Linked DNA regions of Homo sapiens: region 1 is linked to region 2. The links are contacts of gene promoters, found by promoter capture Hi-C in blood cells and fetal thymus (Javierre and others, 2016). All regions are on one chromosome and are shown on one strand. The core of a region is centred on a gene start or on the middle of the fragment in contact, and the rest is flanking DNA. Distances in the headings are between cores, read along the strand shown. Region 1 overlaps FAM234A (family with sequence similarity 234 member A). Region 2 holds the start of MRPL28 (mitochondrial ribosomal protein L28).

Region 1 (5,580 bases), core at 281-2,780, 120 kb before region 2:
ACCTGTTATCGTATATTCTCACCAACACATTTTAAAATGCTTAACTTTTAGGCTGGGCGTGGCCCACACTTTGGGAGGCTGAGGCAGGCAGATCACTTGGGCCCTGGAGTTTGAGACCAGCCTGGGCAACGTGGCGAAACTCTGTCTCTACAAAAAATACAAAAATTTGCCCGGCGCGGTGATGCACACCTGTGGTCCCAGCTACTTTATAGGCTGAGGTGGGAGAATCTCTCGAACCCAGCAGGAGGAGGTTGCAGTGAGCCTAGATCACCACTGCCCTCCAGCCTGGGCCACAGAGTGAGACCCTGTCTCAAGATCAGATAAAATGAAATGCTTAACTTTTGTTAATGTCATTGGTCCTGCTGTGTCTATGAGTGAGACTGAGTGTGTTTCCCCTGGGCACCGGCCACTGGCGTGTGCTCTTCAGTGAACTGCCCAGTTATGAATTCGTTTCCTGTTTCCCCACTGGGGTCCTTGCCTTTCTTTTGTGGGTTTGTGAAAACCCTAAGAATATTTATCCTGGTTTGTTTTGTGGAGCTAACAACAATCTTTTGGCTTCCCTGGGCCACGTTGGAAGAATTGTCTTGGGCCACACATAAAGTACACTAACACTAATGATAGCTGATGAGCTGAAAAAAAAAAATTGCAAAAAAATCTGTGAATGTTTTAAGAAAGTTTCTGAATTTATGTTAGGCCACACTTCAAGCCATCCTGGGCCGAGGGTTGGACAAGCTTGGGTTAGACATTTCATAATATATTTAGTTCATCAGTGTTTTTCTTAATGATTTCCACCTTTGGGGTCATGCGTTCAAGACTTTCCCTAACAATACATAAACATTCTCTTCTATTTTCTTTTAGTTTAATGTTTGTTAAAAATAATGTTTACATTTTTGGCCAGGCGCAGTGGCTCACGCCTGTAATCCCAGCACTTTGAGAGGCTTAGGTGGGCAGATCACGAGGTCAGCAGTTCTAGACCAGCCTGATCATCATGGTGAAACCGTCTCTACTAAAAATACAAAAATTAGCTGGGTGCGGTGGTGGGTGTGGTGGTGGGTGCCTATAGTCCCAGCCACTCAGGAGGCTGAGGCAGGAGAATCGCTTGAACCCAGGAGGCAGAGGTTGCAGTGAGCCAAGATCACGCCATTGTACTCCCGCCTAGGTGACAGAGCAAGATTCTGTCTCAAAAAAATAATAATAATAATAATAATGTTTACATTTTTAATTCATTTGGAGTTTATCTTGATTGGTGGATTTTTTTTTTTTTTTGTGACGAGGTCTCACTCTCACCCAGGCTGGAGCACAGTGGTGCAGTCTCGGCTCACCGCAACCTCTGCCTCCTGGGTTCAAGCAGTTCTCCTGCCTCAGCCTCCTGAGTAGGTGGTGGCTTTTTTTTTTTTTTTTTTTTTTGAGATAGTCTTGCTCTGTCGCCCAGGCTGGAGTGCAGTGGTGCGATCTTGGCTCACTGCAAGCTCTGCCTCCCGGGTTCACGCCATTCTCCTGCCTCAGCCTCCCGAGTAGCTGGGACTAAAGGTGCCCGCCACCACACCCGGCTAATTTTTTGTATTTTTAGTAGAGATGGGGTTTCACCGTGTTAGCCAGGATGGTCTCAATCTCCTGACCTTGTGATCCGCCCGCTTTGGCCTCCTAAAGTGCTGGTATTACAGGCGTGAGCCACCATGCCCAGCCAGCTGGTGTTTTTTTTTTTTCGATCGATTGGTGTTTTGTTTTGTTTTGTTTTGTTTTTGTTTTTTTCTTTTTTTGAGATGGGGGTCTTGCTCTGTTGCCCAGGCTGGAGTGCAGTGGCACGATCTTGGCTCACTGCAACCTCTGCCTCCCAGGCTCAAGTGATTCTCCTGCCTCAGCCTCCTGAGTAGTTGGGATTATAGGCGCATGCCACCATACTCATCTAATTTTTTTATTTTAGCAGAGGTGGGGTTTCACCATGTTGTTCAGGCTGGTCTCGAACTCCTGACTTCGTGATCTGCCTGCCTCGGCCTCCGAAAGTGCTGGGATTACAGGCGCAAACCACCACGCCCGGTCAGTTGGTGGTTTTTTAATTGATTGATTGTTGGTTTTGTTGTTTTATCGATGTTTTGTTCTGTTTTGTTTTGTTTTGAGACAGAGCTTTACTCTGTGTCACCAGGCTGGAGGGCAGTGGCGTGATCACCACTCATTGCAGCCTCCACTTCCTGGCTTCAAGTGACCCTCCCACCTCAGCTCCTGGGTAGCTAAGACCACAGGCGTGTGCCACCACACCGGGCTGATTTTTTTTTTCTTTCTTTTTAGAAACGGTCTCACCGTGTTGCCCAGGCTGGTCTTGAACTGAACTCAAGCTTTCCATGCGCCTCGGCCTGGCAAAGTGCTGGGATTATAGACATGAGACAACACTCCCAGCCTTATTAATGATTTTTTTTTTTTAAGAGAAGTCTTGCTGTTGTCCCTCAGGCTTGAGTGCGATGGCTCAATCTCGGCTGACTGCAACCTCTGCCTCCCAGGTTCAAACAATTCTCCTGCCCTTGACTCCCAAGTGACTGGGATTAAGGTGCCCGCCACCACGCCCGACTAATTTTTGTATTTTTTAGTAGAGATGGGGTTTCACCATGTTGGCCAGGCTGGTCTCGAACTCCTGACCTCAGGTACTCCGCCTGCCTTGGCCTCCCAAAGGGCTGGGATTATAGGCGTGAGCCACCGCGCCTGGCCTTATTAATGATTTTTAAATCAGTTTCTCACAAACTCTTTTGATCTTAGATCAGTCTGTGTTTTTCATAAATGCCTCAACGGCTGGCTCGGTTTTAGAAACCTGTGTTTGTCAGTTAAAATGATGATCCTCCCAAAAATGTTCAGTGCCATTTTCTACCCTGACCTGGGTTCGCCCAAGTGGTGGGAGAGTCCCCATGGAGGCACTGCGGGGCCTGACTGTCTGGGAACCCTCTCAGAGTGGAGCCCAGTGCTGGGTTCAGGTGGGTGCTCATCTGGTTAAGTCAATTGCCTGCATTGTTTTGCGTCCCGTAATGGGGCTTTGCCTTCTGAAGCCTCTGTTTCTGTCTTCCCTCACACGTATGTGATATGTCTTATTTCATTCTGCTCTGCAGGTGAGGACACTGGACCAATTGTAGATGCTCACAAGACACAGATGACCCAAATCCCCAACCGTGTTACTAATGAGCATTTAGAGAGTTTTTTCCCTTTGTCCTTCTAAATCTTGTTACAGAGATGGTCCGTGCATGGGGGAAATGTTTGTCCTTTCGGCCAGGCTCTCCAATTCAAAAGGCAGGAATTGAGAAAATGACAGTACTTTCTCTGTCCCTGCCACAGAATGTCCAGTTTGGTCTGATTTAACATGACAAATCATGCTGTAGAGATAAGTAAGTAGTTTGAATTTTATTTTTCCTTTAATTTTTAGAAGCCACCTTATAACTCGACCATTCTAGTCACATTTTTTTCATATAGATTGTATACTTTATATACTCCATGCTTATCCACATAGAGAATACTTCTGGAAGGACCCATATGAAACTGGTACCATGCTTCCCCTCTTGAGCCTGGGAGCCACAAGATGAAAGGAGATTTACCCTTTTATAGTTTTTAAGTTTTGTGGGTTTTTTTGAAACAGGGTCTTGTTCTGTTGCCCAGGATGGAGTGCAGTGTCCTGGCCATCGCTCACTGCAGCCTTGACCTCCCGGGCTCAAGCAATCCTCCTGCCTCAGCCTCCTGAGTAGTTGGGACTATAGGTGCCCACCACCACACCTGGCTGATTTTTGTATTTTTGGGTAGAGAAGAAGTGTCCCCTGTTGCCCAGGCTGGTCTCAAACTCCTAGGCTCAAGCGACCCACCTGCCTCAGTCCCCCAAAGTGCTGGGATTACAGGTGTGAGGCAGTGCACCTGGCCCTTTTAAATGTTGTATATATTTATTACTGATTTTTTAAAATTATAAATCCAAACTACATTAATAGTAATTGTCTTGCAGGGTCCTTTGGTCATAGCTTACATATTAGAAGAAGGATTAAGAAAGGGAGTGATATAATTTACTAGCTTGAGGTCTGCATTTGGATTGACTTTACTAAGCTTGCTGTGAACTCCAAGGAACAGAAAACCCAGAATACAGGCCGGGCGGCATCTTCAGAGGAAGAGGCCCTTTCCCCTTTGCCTTGCTTGCTTCCAGGCTGGCTGTGGGGGGATGCAGTCTCCCCTTGAGGGTCAGGAGATGTCTGGCCATCATCTGGTAGTTAGAGTGGGATGAACCGAACAAGGGCAGACTTCTCGGTCTGTTCTTCTCTGCTTGGCTCCACCCTGGAATCAGCTGGAGAGTGCCAGCAGCTGCTCCTGACTGGGACCCCACACCCAAAGTGGCCAACTTAGTCCTTCTGGGGGTGGCATCAGGATTGCGAAAGCACCCAAGTTATTTTCATGTGGAGCCACCACTGAGAGTCATGTCTTTGGGAGGATCTAAGTTCCTGACCTGCCACCTTCGCAGGCTGCCTGAGCTGCACTTGACAAGTGGCTTTATGATCCCTAGGTCCACCTGGGCTTGCGAAGGCACAGATTCCCCGTCCACAGCTCACGACCAGATGCACCAGCAGGAGTCCACATCGAGGACGTCCTCCGGGCACTCCCACGACCAGGTAGGTGAGGACTGGTGGGCCCGTGGCTGGATGGGTGGTGTTTTCAGATTCCTGGTGGTGGCGGTTGATGCCCCTCCTTGAGTAGTGCTTTCCTGCACGCTTTCTTTGATGCTCTAGCTCCCACCAGATGAGGACAGCTGAGGCTCAGAGCTCGAATTTCTTGGCTGCAATTTTAAAGCTCTTAAGTTTAAAGCCGTAAAGATAGAAATCCAGAATTATAACATTCTGGTTCTTACTCCGTTTTTTTCTTTCCTTTGCCAAAGGAATCTATGTTTTATTTATTTATTATTTAAAAAAAATTTTTCTTTTTAGACGGAGTCTCGCTCTGTCGCCCAGGCTGGAGTGCAGTGGCGCGATCTCGGCTCACTGCAAGCTCCACCTCCCGGGTTCACGCCGTTCTCCTGCCGCAGCCTCCTATAGGCGCATGCCGCCACACCCAGCTAATTTTTTGTATTCTTAGTAGAGACGGGGTTTCACCGTGTTAGCCAGGATGCTCTAGATCTCCTGACCTCGTGATCCTCCCACCTCGGCCTCTCAAAGTGCTGGGACTACAGGCGTGAGCCACCGCGCCCGGCCAGGAATCTATGTTTTAAACATTTCACACATCCCTTCCTTGGGGACATGGTGGCTAGATTTGCTGAATTAATGGCCGTCTCCTCTTCTTCCAGCCCTGGCCCCAGCCCCTCAGGCCCTGGCAATGAGGCACTCCTACGTTCTGTTGCTGGCTTTTTCCCTAGTTACCTTTTCCAGACAACCCACGTCCTGCCTTCCCCACCCCCATGCCAGCTGCTTGGGTTTAATGAGGTCCTTGGTCGCGACTCATTGTTTGATTTTCCGTGTTCTAACTCACTGCCTTTGATAAGCACACCTTTTCTGACTTCCAAGATGTTAAAACTTAAGCCTCAGCACCTAGGAGAATGCACACATTTTTTCTTATTGTGGTAAAATGTACATAACG
Region 2 (2,700 bases), core at 201-2,700:
GCCCATAAGCCTCATCGATGAGGTCCAGGGTCCGCATGGTCACAGTCACTGTGAACTTCTTGTCCAGGATCTCACTGTAGAACTCTCGCTCAAACAGCTGTGGCTTCCACACTTTCTTCAGCCTCTTGGAGAGCTGAGGGTGCAACAGAGCCTCCATGAGTACTGCTGCTTTCTCTTACATACCAAGGGGGGCCCAGGCAACTGCCCTCACCTCCCCCCCGGAGGCTCCATCACAGAACCACTGCTGTCAGACTGGGGACCTAGAGCTAACTGGGCCGGCCCCCAGCCCAGTGCCGCCCCAGCCCGACCCGGGTCCTGACTGTGTACCCAGAAGTCAGCTGCTCCCCAACAAGCTGGGCGTTCCCGCCCTGGTCACATGGTTGCTGCATGTGTTTCAGAAACATGTGCGACCCCACAGTTTACAGGTTGTCACATTCCAACCTGGAGGTGACACAAGTCTCCCCACAGGCTTCAGCAGTCCCGCCAGGAAGTCCACCACAAGCAGCCTCGAAGCTCTGCTCGCCTCCCCCACCTGCTCTGCTCGCCTCTCCCACCTGCTCTGCTCATCACACAGGCCTCCTCCCCATCCTAACTTTACCCCGACTCCCCACGGCCTCTGGTTGCTCCCCCGGCCTGAGTCACCCCACCTCACCCCTACTTTATCAGTCCTGTTTGCCAGAACTGCGGTTCTTCACTCAGCGTGCTCCTTTGCCGGAGATGTGTCGCCTCCAGGCTGTAATCCCCAGGGCCCACCCAGGTCTCTCCAGGTACCCCGGGCGTCCGGCACAGAGCCGGCACAGCCAAGCCCTGAGAGGAGCCCCTGAAGGCCGCCTGCGGACCCACCTTGTCGTTGTTGGCATATATTTGGCCCAGGATCCAGCCCTCGCCGCCCCACAACCCCCGCTGGGATTCGGGGGGAAAGTAGATGGGAATGGGCACGTCCTCCACACGCTCCCGCTGCCCGTTCTTGGGGTTGATCTTGAACTTGGCCCCATGAGGCCTATAGTGCACGGGAGTGGGCGTCCGCTCCTCCTCCAGGGAGCGCAGGTAGTGGCCGGGCAGGCGGGAACAGATGCCCTCCCGCAGCTGCAGCCGCTTCCAGAGCCACACGGGATACTTGTGTAGAGGCATCGCGAGCCTGGCGGGAGGTGGGGGCTCGCAGTCAGTCGCAGCCTGGCCAGGCCCCCGGCACTCACCCCCTACCCCGGCCCCCGACTCTCACCCGCTACCCCGGCCCCCGGCTCTCACCCGCTACCCCGGCCCCCGGCTCTCACCCGCTACCCCGGCCCCCGGCTCTCACCCGCTACCCCCTACCCCGGCCCCCGGTTCTCACTCCGGCCCCTGTCCCGCACCCACCTGCCCCTCCCCTTCTGCCCCGGCGCCCCCCCACACCCCACCTGCCCGCGCCCACCTTTCAGGGTTCAGAGCCCACCGGAACCGGAAGCCGATCTGCCGCGCCTGGCCCTCCTCCCACCGCTGACTGGCTGTAAAAGCCATCCGTCTACCCCCTCGTCCCGCCCCGCTTCCGTCTTTAGGGACCGTAAAAAACACCCCACATACAGCAGCAGCAGCTCAAGGCACCGTTAGCTACGTGCGGCCCCGGCGTTTCCGCGAAGGGCGGCACGGGCGGGGCGGTGCTTGTTCTCCCGGGCCCCACTTACCCTACCCGGGAAGGAGCACAGAAAAAATGTAAAAACTCGTTTAGTTTGAAAAATCAATGTAGAATATTAAATTCACCAAACACAGATAGATCAGATCTACATAAAAATATGTCTTAATATCTTAGAATTTTCCTTTACTCCAAAAAACCCCATATATATATGTTTCTCCTTTATAAGCTTAGAGATTGCTTTGGTGGTCAAGTGCAGGGCGGCTGGGGGAGGTAAGACCTTCAGGAAGGCCATATCCCGGACAAGACCCAGAAGGGAAGCCCCCAGAGCCAAGGGTAGGAGGGCCCCACCCGGGTCTCAGCCACTCACTTCTCCAGGGCGGATCCGAGACACTCACAGGCCTCAGGGAGGGGCCAGGTGCTGCTCCTGGTCATTGCTTCCCCCACAAGGTTTGCATGAGGAGCAGAGACAGTCCAGTCTCCTGAACACCCACAGGGCACAGAGCCCAGTGCAGGGGGCAGACACCACCGCAGCTCCTGGGACCAAGAGGAAGCTCCCAGAGGGGGGCCCAGGAACGCTGGGGTGGGTGGACAGGGCTGGGTAGGGGTTCCTTCTGGGCCAAACCCCCAGAGCAGCAGAGCACCCCAGTCCAAGGAAGCTCTTCTCAGGGACCCAAGGCTCCAGAGCCAGGAAAAAGGGAGGGGCGGGGCGGGAGCCTGCATCCCCAGTGCCCATCAGCTCTGGGGGAAACCTCCGTCTCCCGTCCCTATGGTGACCACAGCAGCAGAGGGGGATCCTCCATGCCCCAGGCAGGCTGGCATCAGGGCCACACAGGGGCCAGGAGCAGGGGTCTCGGAGTCCACAGCTCCCGGCCCCAGTGGTGGGCTCAGGGCTCCTGGGCGCCATGGGTCTCACCACAGCCTCGCCAGGGAACAGGACCATAGGGAGTCCTTCTCCCCATCTCTAGCCACCCACAGGCCAGCAGAGCACACAGCCCCACCCTCGCACAGGCACCTGTGGTCTCCAAGTAACCAAGCCCAGGCCCCAGGGGCCACTGCAGACAGCAGCTGGGATCTGCAGAGGGATCTCA

Evidence for each region. The method cuts DNA at HindIII sites, captures the fragments that hold promoters and counts their contacts. A CHiCAGO score of 5 or more calls a contact.
Region 1: a fragment that was not itself captured here is called in contact with the fragment with the promoter of MRPL28 in region 2 in 1 of 17 cell types (erythroblasts); the score reaches 5.7 in erythroblasts.

The regions. Positions count from the first base shown.
Region 1 is chr16:245,033-250,612 of GRCh38, forward strand. FAM234A (family with sequence similarity 234 member A) reads left to right here. Exons shown (of 13, transcript NM_032039.4): 2 at 4,517-4,622. Among named protein-coding and RNA genes, the nearest start is that of FAM234A, 13 kb to the left of the region's middle. The HindIII fragment of the contact is 1,601 bases long and covers 731-2,331 here.
Region 2 is chr16:369,088-371,787 of GRCh38, forward strand. MRPL28 (mitochondrial ribosomal protein L28) reads right to left here and starts at 1,451. Exons shown (of 6, transcript NM_006428.5): 1 at 1,412-1,451; 2 at 844-1,138; 3 at 1-133. The coding sequence starts at 1,131. It overlaps PGAP6 (post-GPI attachment to proteins 6), which reads right to left. Exons shown (of 13, transcript NM_021259.3): 13 at 1,701-2,700. The HindIII fragment of the contact is 7,915 bases long and covers 1-1,836 here.